Regions from separate parts of the Homo sapiens genome. Here regions 2 and 3 are each linked to region 1. Evidence: promoter capture Hi-C in human tissues and cell types (Jung and others, 2019). All regions are on one chromosome and are shown on one strand. Each heading gives the region's core, a stretch centred on a gene start or on the middle of the fragment in contact. The rest is flanking DNA. Distances are from core to core; before and after follow the strand shown.

Evidence for each region. The method cuts DNA at HindIII sites, captures the fragments that hold promoters and counts their contacts. A contact is called where the count stands out against the background at its distance.
Region 2: a contact is called between a fragment that was not itself captured here and the fragment with the promoter of HCAR1 in region 1, in 3 of the 25 tissues and cell types used here (dorsolateral prefrontal cortex, lymphoblastoid cells and thymus).
Region 3: a contact is called between a fragment that was not itself captured here and the fragment with the promoter of HCAR1 in region 1, in 4 of the 25 tissues and cell types used here (liver, lymphoblastoid cells, mesenchymal stem cells and 1 more).

Annotation. Positions count from the first base shown.
Region 1 is chr12:122,728,525-122,732,711 of GRCh38, reverse strand. HCAR1 (hydroxycarboxylic acid receptor 1) reads left to right here and starts at 1,868. Exons shown (of 1, transcript NM_032554.4): 1 at 1,868-4,187. The coding sequence starts at 2,373. The coding sequence ends at 3,413. RefSeq lists an enhancer at 2,439-3,106. The HindIII fragment of the contact is 12,382 bases long and covers 1-4,187 here.
Region 2 is chr12:122,505,241-122,509,427 of GRCh38, reverse strand. It overlaps RSRC2 (arginine and serine rich coiled-coil 2), which reads left to right. Exons shown (of 10, transcript NM_023012.6): 8 at 981-1,210; 9 at 2,505-2,594; 10 at 3,722-4,187. The coding sequence ends at 3,901. Among named protein-coding and RNA genes, the nearest start is that of ZCCHC8, 6.4 kb to the right of the region's middle. The HindIII fragment of the contact is 4,115 bases long and covers 1-3,845 here.
Region 3 is chr12:122,593,158-122,597,344 of GRCh38, reverse strand. It overlaps KNTC1 (kinetochore associated 1), which reads right to left. Exons shown (of 64, transcript NM_014708.6): 43 at 2,960-3,069. Among named protein-coding and RNA genes, the nearest start is that of KNTC1, 68 kb to the right of the region's middle. The HindIII fragment of the contact is 8,363 bases long and covers 1-4,187 here.

The sequences.
Region 1 (4,187 bases), core at 619-3,118:
ACTCTAAGCTCCAGCTGATTGTTTCCATGTGGGAGTGTCGGTCCAGTGTGGCCAGATCTTCCAGTGTTCTAAGAGACAACAGAAATCCAGGTTTTTATAGGACTGCACCAGGTTTTAAAAACATATCGGCCAAGCCAGGCTGGTTTTTAAACCAGATATGGTCCACAGGCCATCATTCTAGCCCCTTGGCAGATTGAAGGGAGCTAGTGAAGATTTTTAAGTGAAAAAAGGTATATGATAATATCTGTGCTTCAGAAAAATCAGATTATTGTGTAGAAGATGACTTACAGGAAATAGATGAGAGGAAGGGAAACCAGTTAGGAAACTGTTTCAACAGTTCAGGTGGGAAGTGACTGCGGTCTGTGCTAGGGCGAGGCAGGGGAGAATGTGGGTGGACAGATTTGGAGTCCAGCATCCAGTGGGAAGAATTTAGCTTCAGTGTGCATCTAGAAGACAGACACATTCTTTCAATGCACCCCCTCTTTTCCGCCCCATTTTTTTTTTTTGAGACAGAGTTTCTTTCTGTCACCCAGGCTGGAGTTCATTGGCACGATCTCGGCTCACTGCAACCTCCACCTCCCGGGTTCAAGTGATTCTCCTGCCTCAGCCTCCTGAGTAACTGGGATTACAGACACATGCCACAACACCTGACTGATTTTTGTATATTTTTAGTAGAGATGGGGTTTCACCATGTTGGCAAGGCTGGTCTTGTACTCCTGACCTCAAGTCATCCACCTGCCTCGGCCTCCCAAAGTGCTGGGATTATAGATGTGAGCCACCGCGACTGGCCTCCACCCCATTTTCTTCTTTCTTTCTTTTTTCTTTTTCTTTTTCTTGTTGTTTTGTTTGTTTGTTTGTTTGTTTGTTTTAGACGGAGTCTGGTTCTGTCACCCAGACTGGAGTGCAGTGGCGCAATCTTGGCTCCCTGCAAGCTCTGCCTCCCGGGTTCACGCCATTCTCCTGCCTCAGCCTCCCGAGTAGCTGGGACTACAGGCGCCCGCCACCACGCCTGGCTCATTTTTTTGTATTTTTAGTAGAGACGGGGTTTTACCGTGTTAGCCAGGATGGTCTCCATCTCCTGACCTGGTGATCCGCCCGCCTGGGCCTACCAAAGTGCTTGGATTACAAGCGTGAGCCACCGCGCCCGGCCTCCACCCCATTTTCTAAACTGGAAGCTGAAAGGCACAGGGCAGATTAATAATCCTTAAAGCCAAAGGACAGGAAATTTTAGCAAAGACTCCAATTTTTTGTGCAGTCTAATGTTACTCATGATTGCTTTAGAGATGGACTCCTTAATCAACTCCTCCAATCCTCTTCCGCCCCCAGGGGGCAGTTTTAATTGATGGGCTCAGCACATAATTGAAATTAAAAACGTACATCTCATGGTGTTTGGCTCATTCAACAGCCAATGGAAACTCAGGGCCAAATCTTTGTAAAAGTTCTAGGCTCTGCTTCCCAGCAGAGGGGGAAACCGGCTCCCAAAGAGGCCGTTTTGTGGAGACAGACATATGAGAAGTGGGCTTCAGATCTATTTCATGGTCTTGGTGGTTGTGCAACTGGCCACTTTGGTTCACGGAAGGATGTAAAGGGCAGGGAGGTGGGAATAGAGCGGGGGAAAGGTGACTCCCGTCAAAGAATTTTTCTAACATCCATCAAGTATCGTGATTAGAACTTTTCTCTCCGCAGACTCCTCCAATTTTTGAGCGCGGTATTTTTCGGCACAGGAAATGGCCCGGAGGAGCTGCAGAGCAAAGCCTCCCCTCTCTGGCACCGCATGGGAGTGCCCCGTGGGATGAGGGAGAGGACAAGGCAGTCAGGCAAAGGTTACGGGAGGAAAGCAAAGGCAGGAGCCCAGAACCACTCCAGGAAATGTTTGGATTTCTCCACCAGGAGGGAGGACAAACAAGCTTTCTTCTTGCCTTCTGGGCAGCTTTGTGTGCTCTCCAGCACGGAGTCCGAGGAGGAACAGCGAAGCTGAAAATGAAAATTACTCTGGCGCTGGACCCAATCGCTCCTCTACGGCATCAATCTCATCGGACCCCCCCACCCTACCGCCTCTCAGAAATGACCACTTTTGCAAAATTGCATGCATTTCCAAGCTTCATCCGGCTCCAGGCTTGGCCTCTCCCAGAGGCAGGCGGCTTGTGAGACGGGCTCCAGAGAAAGGACCTCCCTGGGTCTCTCATTTCCTGGCTGAAGTTTCTCTTCTCGCTGCTGTGGCAGCATCCAACCCACACACACAGGACCCGCATCCTGGGTGATGAAGTCAGACACGCAGCAGCTGGGTGAGTGCTAACGCTCAGATAAGCATCTGTGCCATTGTGGGGACTCCCTGGGCTGCTCTGCACCCGGACACTTGCTCTGTCCCCGCCATGTACAACGGGTCGTGCTGCCGCATCGAGGGGGACACCATCTCCCAGGTGATGCCGCCGCTGCTCATTGTGGCCTTTGTGCTGGGCGCACTAGGCAATGGGGTCGCCCTGTGTGGTTTCTGCTTCCACATGAAGACCTGGAAGCCCAGCACTGTTTACCTTTTCAATTTGGCCGTGGCTGATTTCCTCCTTATGATCTGCCTGCCTTTTCGGACAGACTATTACCTCAGACGTAGACACTGGGCTTTTGGGGACATTCCCTGCCGAGTGGGGCTCTTCACGTTGGCCATGAACAGGGCCGGGAGCATCGTGTTCCTTACGGTGGTGGCTGCGGACAGGTATTTCAAAGTGGTCCACCCCCACCACGCGGTGAACACTATCTCCACCCGGGTGGCGGCTGGCATCGTCTGCACCCTGTGGGCCCTGGTCATCCTGGGAACAGTGTATCTTTTGCTGGAGAACCATCTCTGCGTGCAAGAGACGGCCGTCTCCTGTGAGAGCTTCATCATGGAGTCGGCCAATGGCTGGCATGACATCATGTTCCAGCTGGAGTTCTTTATGCCCCTCGGCATCATCTTATTTTGCTCCTTCAAGATTGTTTGGAGCCTGAGGCGGAGGCAGCAGCTGGCCAGACAGGCTCGGATGAAGAAGGCGACCCGGTTCATCATGGTGGTGGCAATTGTGTTCATCACATGCTACCTGCCCAGCGTGTCTGCTAGACTCTATTTCCTCTGGACGGTGCCCTCGAGTGCCTGCGATCCCTCTGTCCATGGGGCCCTGCACATAACCCTCAGCTTCACCTACATGAACAGCATGCTGGATCCCCTGGTGTATTATTTTTCAAGCCCCTCCTTTCCCAAATTCTACAACAAGCTCAAAATCTGCAGTCTGAAACCCAAGCAGCCAGGACACTCAAAAACACAAAGGCCGGAAGAGATGCCAATTTCGAACCTCGGTCGCAGGAGTTGCATCAGTGTGGCAAATAGTTTCCAAAGCCAGTCTGATGGGCAATGGGATCCCCACATTGTTGAGTGGCACTGAACAAGCAGACCAACAACACTGAGGAAGATAGAGTGGTGACTTAGAATTAACTCGTGCTAAGGGGTCGGGGGCTTTGAAAATGCCACCCCCCTTTCTTATTGCAAGACGGCTTCTCGCACATGAACTGCATCCTTCTCATTCTGTCGGAAATGAAATTCACACAACTATACCTTTTGGGGAGGTTCCAGTTGATTGAAGTGAGTTGGCTGCATTTTCTTATCTGATCACAATGGCAGGGGACAGAATGTGCATGGAGTGGAGCATGTGTGTGTTGGGAGGGGGGCTAGGAACTGCACAGCCCTTGTGTAATTTTCGTTGTTTGTTTTTGTTTTGAGACAGAGTCTCACTCTGTGTCCCAGGCTGGAGTGCAGTGGCACAGTCTCGGCTCACTGCAACCTCTGCCTCCCGGGTTCAAGCAATTCTCCTGCCTCAGCCTCCCGAGTAGCTGGGATTAGAGGCGCCAGCCAACACACCCGGCTAATTTTTGTATTTTTAGTAGAGACAGGGTTTTGCCATGTTGGCCAGGCTGGTCTCGAGCTCCTGACCTCAGGTGATCCGCCTGCCTTGGCCTCCCAAAGTGGTGGGATCACAGGCGTGAGCCACCGTGCCTGGCCTCCCCTGTGTCATTTTAAATGGCTAAGTAAATGGGTATATGTGTTTGAATGGGGCATGTTCACTCTCTTAGGGGCTATGGGGCAGTTAGCAGCATTTCCTATCCTCTGACCTTAAATCATTCCTTATCTCAGAAAACAGAAACCGGGCTCAGTCAATCAA
Region 2 (4,187 bases), core at 539-3,038, 220 kb after region 1:
CCTGTGCTGGAGTACAGTGGCACAATCCTGACTCACAACAACCTCCACCTCTCGGGTTCAAGTGATTCTCCTGCCTCAGCCTCCTGAGTACCTGGGCTTATAGGCGCCTGCCACCACGCCTGGCTAATTTTTTTGTAGTTTTTATTTGAGACGGGGTTTCACTATGTTGGCCAGGCTGGTCTCGAACTCCTGACCTTGTGATCCGCCTGTCTTGGCCTCCTAAAGTGCTGGGATTACAGACGTGAGCCACTGCGCCCAGCCTTAGCTGCATACTGTTTTTCAAGTATATGATGTGAGCATCAAATGAAATGTCCATGAGAACATTTCATAAATTTAAAAAAATACAAGGTTTTATTGTTTTGTAATTATACCTTAGAAACACTATAGTTCATCTCCACTGAAATCATACTTTCTTACTATTTGCAGAATTCTCTATCCTCAAAGTAAATAAATGGGTTTTTTTTTTGTTTTGATACGGAGTTTCGCTCTTGTTGCCCAGGCTGGAGTGCAGTGGCATGATCTCGACTCACTGCAACCTTCGCCTTTTGGGTTCAAGTGATTCTCCTGCGTCAGCCTCCCGAGTAGCTGAGATTACGGGCATGTACCACCACGCCCGGCTAATTTTGTATTTTTGGTAGAGACGGGGTTTCTCCATGTTGGTCAGGCTGGTCTCGAACTCCCAACCTCAGGTGATCCGCCCACCTCAGCCTCCCAAAGTGCTGGGATTACAGGCGTGAGCCACTGCGCCTTGCAATAAATGGTTTATATATCAAGGGTTTATGTAGAAATATGTCCGTTGATGAACACAATAAATGTTTGCTAAAAACTTGTGAGCTAATACTCAGTCATTTCCTTGGATTTGGTGAAAATCCTGCCTTTTTGCACATTCATAGCTTTTTATAAATCGTTCGTTAATGTAAATCAGGAGGTTTATGTTTTAAAATCGTTTTAAAATCCATTTTTGTATTCTCTTCAAGCAGCTGCAGCTACTGGAGGTTCTGTTCTCAATGTTGCTGCCCTGTTGGCATCAGGAACACAAGTAACACCTCAGATAGCCATGGCAGCTCAGATGGCAGCCCTGCAAGCTAAAGCTTTGGCAGAGACAGGAATAGCTGTTCCTAGCTACTATAACCCAGCCGCTGTTAATCCAATGAAATTTGCTGAACAAGAGAAAAAAAGGAAAATGCTTTGGCAGGGCAAGAAAGAAGGGGTAAGTTCTCTTATTCTGCTTTTCTGTCGTTTATTCCTAATTAGTAATTGCTTAGAAAAACAAATTTGGGTTGAAAAATATTACTTTCGGCTTAACTTTGTAAGAACCTGGGGTGGCCAGACGCGGGTGGCTTATGCCTTTAATCCCAGCACTTTGGGATGCCAAGTGAGCGGATCAGTTGAGGTAAGGAGTCCAAGACCAGCCTGGCCAACATGGCAAAACCCTGTCTCTACTGAAAAGAAGATAAAAATCAGCTGGGTGTGGTGGCACACACCTGTAATCCCAGGTGCTTGGGAGGCTGAGGCAGGAGAATCGCTTGAGCCTGGGATGCAGAGCCTACATACAGTGAGCCAAGATCATGCCACTTAGCCAGGCATGGTGGTGGGCACCTGTAATCCCAGCTACTTGGGAGGCTGAAACAGGAGAATCACTTGATCCTGGGAGGCGGAGGTTGCAGTGAGTTTCCAGCGAAACTCCATCTGGAAAAAAAAAAAAAAAATCACGCCACTGCACTTCAGCCTGGGTGAGACCCTGTCTCAAAAAACTTATAATAAGCTATGATAGTCTTATTTGCCAGTTATTAATACTAAAATAAAACATAATTGATTGAAGTCAAGCTTTCAAAGAAAACTAATATTACCATAGAAGTAGTAAGGAAAAGAGGCTACTTGGTTTAGAATTTTTCATAGATTATGAGGTACTTTTTTTTTTTTGACATTATTTGCAATGACAAATGACATTAAATGCAAATGACATGCAGTCGCAAAAATTGCATGTTGAAAAAGGTCTATGACAGGAAAATAATCCATTTTTTTATTTTATTTTTATTATTTTTGAGACAGAGTCTTGCTCTTGTCACCCAGGCTGGAATGCAGTGGTGTGATCTCAGCTCACTGCAACCTCTGCCTCCCAGGTTCAAGCAATTCTCCTGCCTCAGACTCCTGAGACCCTCCTGGGTCTACAGGTGCCCACCACCATGCCAGGCTAGTTTTTTGTATTTTTAGTAGAGACGGGGTTTCACCTAGTCATCCAGGCTAGTCTCGATCCCCTGACCTCAGGTGATTTGCCCACCTCGGCCTTCCAAAGTGCTGGGATTATAGGAGTGAAGCACGGCGCCAACCTCTTGCTTGTATTTCTTTGCTTTGTGGTTTCTTAAGTCTTGAAATAATTAAACTTACATTGATTGAATGCTATCCATGGTGTTTTTTTTTTTAATTTAGACATTGTTGAGAGATTTCATGTCCTAAAAAATATTTAAATTTTACATATTTTAAAGTTCAGTGTTTGTTAACAGGACAAATCCCAATCTGCTGAAATATGGGAAAAATTGAATTTTGGAAACAAGGACCAAAATGTCAAATTTAGGAAATTGATGGGTATTAAGGTGAGTTTCACATGTGCCAGGGGATCTTTGTATTAGCTATTAGCCCTCCTGCACTGTTCTTCCCTCATTTTCTTAGTTCTGGTCTTTACTCAGGTGTCAGCGTTTTTGAGTTCTTTCCCACCACCTTTTGTGAAATAACAAGCAATCCCATTCTGAAACATTTCCATCTCCCCTACCCACTGTCCTCCCTACACACACACTTGGAGAGAGAGAGAGAGACGGGGTTTTGCTCTGCTTGCTCTGTCACTTGGGCTGGAGTACAGTGGTGCAGTCATACCTCACTGCAGCCTTAAACTTCGAGGCTCAAGCAGTCCTTCCACCTCGGCCTCTCAAAGCCCTGGATCACAGTTCTGAGCCACTGCGCCCAGCCTCCATCCCCATTTTCTACTTTACTTTCCTCTGTGGCATTTATACCCTGACATCTTCTACATATTATGTTTTTTCCAACCTACTAAACTGAAGTTAACTTTTGTTACACCCTGCTATATTCCAGACCTAGAAAGAACATTGCCTTGTCCTTTGGAGGTGTTCAATAATGAATGGAAATTAAGTTATTGAGATCAAATACATATCCCAAAAGTATATTTTTGTTTGTTTGTTTTTTGTTTTTAGTATAGACGGGGTTTCACCATGTTGGCCAGGCTAGTCTCGAAATCCTGACCTCAGGTGATCCACCCGTCTCAGCCTCCCAAAGTGCTGGGATTACAGGCGTGAGCCACACTGCACCCGGCCAAAAGTATAATTTAATAGTGTCAGCCTAGTTCACACCTGTAATCCCAACACTTCGGGAGGCCGGGGGGCAGGCGGCAGGGGGGATCCCTGAGGTCAGGAGTTCGAGACCAGCCTGACCAATGTGGTGAAACCCCGTCTCTACTGAAAATACAAAAATTAGCTGGGCGTGGTGGCATGTGCCTCTAATCCCAGCTATTTGGGAGGCTGAGGCATAAGAATTACTTAAACCCAGGAGGCAGAGGTTGCAGTGAGCCGAGATGGCACCACTGCACTCCAGACGGGACAACAGAGCAAGACTCCATCTCAAAAAAAAAAAATACATAAAAAATAGTGTCAAGTGAGAGAATATTTATCTCCATCTGAATTCATTGTAATGTTTTATGTCTGATTTTTAGAGTGAAGATGAAGCTGGATGTAGCTCAGTTGATGAAGAAAGTTACAAGACTCTGAAGCAGCAGGAAGAAGTATTTCGAAATTTAGATGCTCAGTATGAAATGGCAAGATCACAAACCCACACACAAAGAGGAATGGGTTTGGGTTTCACATCTTCAATGCGAGGAATGGATGCAGTTTGAAAATGATCACACTTGTAAAGTTTGGGACTTATAGACTTCTTGTTCTGATGTCACGTCCTTGTTCACCAAACAGCTAGCACTCTAGCTTGCATGGGTGTTGCATTGACTTTAATTTATTGAAAAATACAAATTTTTGTAAATATCAGATCAGTGATACTGGTGTTAGTGTTGTAATCAGGTTAAACCCACTTCCATTAAACTTGACAGGACTATAGAAGGATAATATTTTTTAGTTCATGAATTCTACTTTTCAAATATATAAAAGCTGCAGGTGGGGATAAAATCT
Region 3 (4,187 bases), core at 824-3,323, 140 kb after region 1:
CCCGGGAGGTGGAGGTTGCGGTGAGCCAAGATCGCACCACTGCACTCCAGTTTGGGCAACAGAGCAAGGCTCCATCTCAAAAAAAAAAAAAAAAAAAAAAAAATCAGGTATTATTCCTGGTGGGTGTGTAAACTGTTAGAATATTGGAGAGAAATCTGTAATAAAATTGAAAATATTTATGCTCTTTAGTATAAAAATGCAACATTTACAAATTTCACCTAAGAAGAAAAATATACATGTTAGTAAGGATGTCTTCTGCAGCAACTCTTTGTAATGATTAAAAGCTGAAAACAGTTTATATCTATAAGTGCCTACACATCAAAAAAGTAGAAAAAATTCATAAACAACCTAACAATACATCTTAAAGAAGTAGAAAAGGAAGAGCAAACCAAACAAAATTAGTAAAAGAAAAGAATAAAGATCAGAGCAGAAATAAATGAAATTGAAACAAAAACAATACCAAGGATCAACAAAACAAAAATTGGATTTTTTTTTGTTTCTTTGAGACAGGGTCTCATTCTGTTCCCCAGGCTAAAGTGCAGCGGCATGATCAAGGCTCACTGCAGTCTCAACCTCCTGGGCTCAAGTAATCCTCCCACCTCAACCTCTCAAGTAGCTGGAACTACAAGCATGCGCCACAACACTTCAGTGAATTTTTTTACCTTTGTAGAGATGGGGCTCTCACTATGTCACCAAGGCTGGTCTCCAACTCCTGGCCTCAAGCGATCCTCCTGCCTTGGCCCCTCAAAGTGTTGGGATTATAGGCGTTAGCCACCATACCTGGCCAAAAAGCTGTTTTGTTTTTTTTTTTTAAAGATAAAAAAAATCAGGCTGGGCACGTGATTCACGCCTGTAATCCCAGCACTTTGGGAGGCCGAGGCAGGTGGATCACGAGGTCAGGAGTTGGAGACCAGCCTGACCAATATGGTGAAACCCCATCTCTACCAAAAATACAAAAATTAGGCCAGGCATGGTGGCTCACGCCTGTAATCCTAGCACTTTGGGAGGTCGAGACGGGTGGATTGCCTGAGCTCAGGAGTTCAAGACCAGCCTAGGTAACATGGTGAAACCCGGTCTCTACTAAAATACAAATAATTAACCCGGCATGGTGGCATGCGCCTGTAATCCCAACTACTCAAGAGGCTGAGGCAGGAGAATCGCTTGAGCCCAGGAGGTGGAGGTTGCAGTGAGACAAGATTGCACCACTGCACTTCAGGCTGGGTGACAGAGCGAGACTCCGTCTCAAAAAAAAAAAAAAAAAAAAAGAATCTGGTTACTATAGACAAAATGACAACTGAAATGCCTTTTTAGACCCTATTAATAACACAGTGATAGTTTAATTTGCTATACAGCATAACTAAAATATCAATAAAAGGCTTAAGTACCACCATTTTCAAGTCACTCTCTGATATTCTAAAGTTTATCTAAATTTATTCAGATACACTGCCTGAGGCAGAAGTGTCACTATCATATGAATACAAATCATCAATGCCACGTAAGTAGAATAATTATGAAATGAACTTGACATTATAGCTATTTAAATTTCAAAAAAGTGTCCTGCACCATAAAACATCACAGAAGAATCTAGCAGTAGTTCAAATTAATAAAAAAGATAAGAGTGTGCATACCCTATTCTGGATTTATAACACTCTAAACTGAAGAATGACATAGTTTTGTTATTTCAAACTACTCTTTTAAGTCAGTGCTCCTTCGAGCTATGCGCAGCCTATAGTCCTTGACTTACAGGTACTAGATGGTGACAGCCACGGTCTTTCCCCACTATCCACAGAGACAAAGAACTAGATGCCTGCCCAGTGCAGGAAATGCACCAAGCAGTTTCATTCTCAATAACTCAGATTCCATTAATCTGTTACAAATCAGATGGAGGTTATAGCACCCATAATATTTTAGAAGCAGTCATTAATAATTTGACCTTGAGCAGGTCACATACTATGTTGTTTTCTCATATATCAACTGGCAACATATGCAATAAGAACTATAAAAATTAAATGAGGTGACAGATCTGAAAGCATTCTGAAACCAGAAAACGAGTCCTTGTATTTACTAGACAGAAACATCTGAGATATAAATTACAAATCATTTATCCCTACTTATCAAAGTCAGCGGAATCTATAAATAACACATTTTATCTTAGTTCTAAAAATTCTTGTTCAGGCGCAGTGGCTCACGCCTATAATCCCAGTACTTTGGGAGGCCGAGGCGGGTGAATCACTTGAGGTCAGGAGTTCGGGACCAGCCTGGCCAACATGGTGAAACCCCATCTCTATTAAAAATATAAAAATTAGCCAGGCGTGGTGGTGCATGCCTGTAATTCCAGCTACTTGGGAGGTTGAGGCCAGAGAATGGCTTGAAGGTGGAGGCTGCGGTGAGCTGAGATTACGCCACTGCACTCCAGCCTGGGTGACAGAGGGAGACTCCGTCTCAAATAAAGAAAGAAGTTAAATAAAAATAAAAATTCTTTTATAAACATTTTTAATAGGAAATTAGAAATTCTCCCTAAATCATACTTTTCATTAATTTTTAAGATTACTTTGCTCCCTAGTTAACCTGATTTAGAAGTTTATTACTCAGAAGAATATTCTCCAACTTTTCTGATCATAGGAATCACCTGAGCTCCTATTAGAGACCAGCGATTTCTAGGCCTTGGTCCAGACCCACTGAGTCAGAACTGCCAGAGAGGCCCAGAAACCTGCATTTGAAATCAAGTGCCCTAAGCAGTGCTTATCAGGAGACAAGTTTGGGAAACACTAAATGGTGAATTTAAATGGTGGTATCATAAGAGACTCTAATCTGATTTCATATTTACTCAGTTTGGGAATGAGCAAAAGAAAATAGTGGTCTATGGACCTCATAAAATAATCATCGTTATTACTGTGTTCTTGCAAAAGAATTACCAGTTTGTTAACAGCAAAAATACCGTTAATGTTTAAAGAATTACCTGCAATATTCCAAAATGAGGCTTGTGTCCATATCTATATTCTCCACAAGAGCTTTAATGAGGTCTTTCTTGGTGAGAAAATGTTGCCTGAAAACTGGTTGAAAAGAAATCTAGAAATAAAAAGAAAAAAACAAAGCAAAAAAACCCTCTACACTGAAATGTATCAGAGTAAGGGCAACATCATGACTTGCCTTCTTAGTATCCTTTTTCAAAAAGAAACATTTGTCTATAGCTCCTCCAACCTCACACTACCCAACCCAGCCATCATTCTGAGATTTGAGGTGTACATGGGTCCGAAACTCCTCTTAGTCATCCTAACCATTGCCTCTTCATCTGAAAAGTTTGATTGTTAATGTCAACAGAACACCAGTTCCATTACTGCAGAAGAATTAAGCTTCAAAACATATAGCATTTCTGTACTGATTACCTTTCTGATAAGTCAACTGTTGGCAAATAAAATGTCTTATATTTTTGGTAAAGAAAACAGGGTTTTGGCTCATGCCTATAATCCCAGCACTGTGGGAGGCTGAGGCGGGTGGATCACTTGAGGTCAGGAGTTTGAGACCAGCTTGGCCAACATGGAAACCTTGTCTCTACAAAAAAATACAAAACAATTAGCTGGGCATGGTGGTGCATGCCTGTAGTCCCAGCTACTCAGGAGGCTAAGCTGGGAGGATCACTTAGGCCCTAGAGGTCAAGGCTGCAGTGAGCCATGATAATGCCACTGCACTCCAGCCTGGGTGACAGAATGAGATCCTGTCAAAGACAAGATTGCGCCCTGCCTGCTTGTCTGTTCTTTTACAATGTCAAAAATAAAGCTCAAGGCTGGGCGCGGTAGCTCATGTCTGTAATCCCAGCACTTTGGGAGGCCGACGTGGGCGGATCACGAGGTCAAGAGATGGGAGACCATCCTGGCCAATACAGTGAAACCCTGTCTCTACTAAAATACAAAAAATTAGCCGGGCGTGGTGGTGCATGCCTGTAGTCCCAGCTACTTGGGAGGCTGAGGCAGGGGAATTGCCTGAGCCTGGGAGGCGGATGTTGCAGTGAGCCGAGATCGTCCCACTGCACTCCAGCCTGGCAAAAGAGCAAGACTCTGTCTCAAAAAAAAAAAAAAAAGAAAAAAAGAAAGAAAAATAAAGGCCATTTACGTCCCCTCTGCTAGTGTGTCCGGAATTGGTGGGTTCTTGGTCTCACTGACTTCAAGAATGAAGCCGCGGACCCCCGA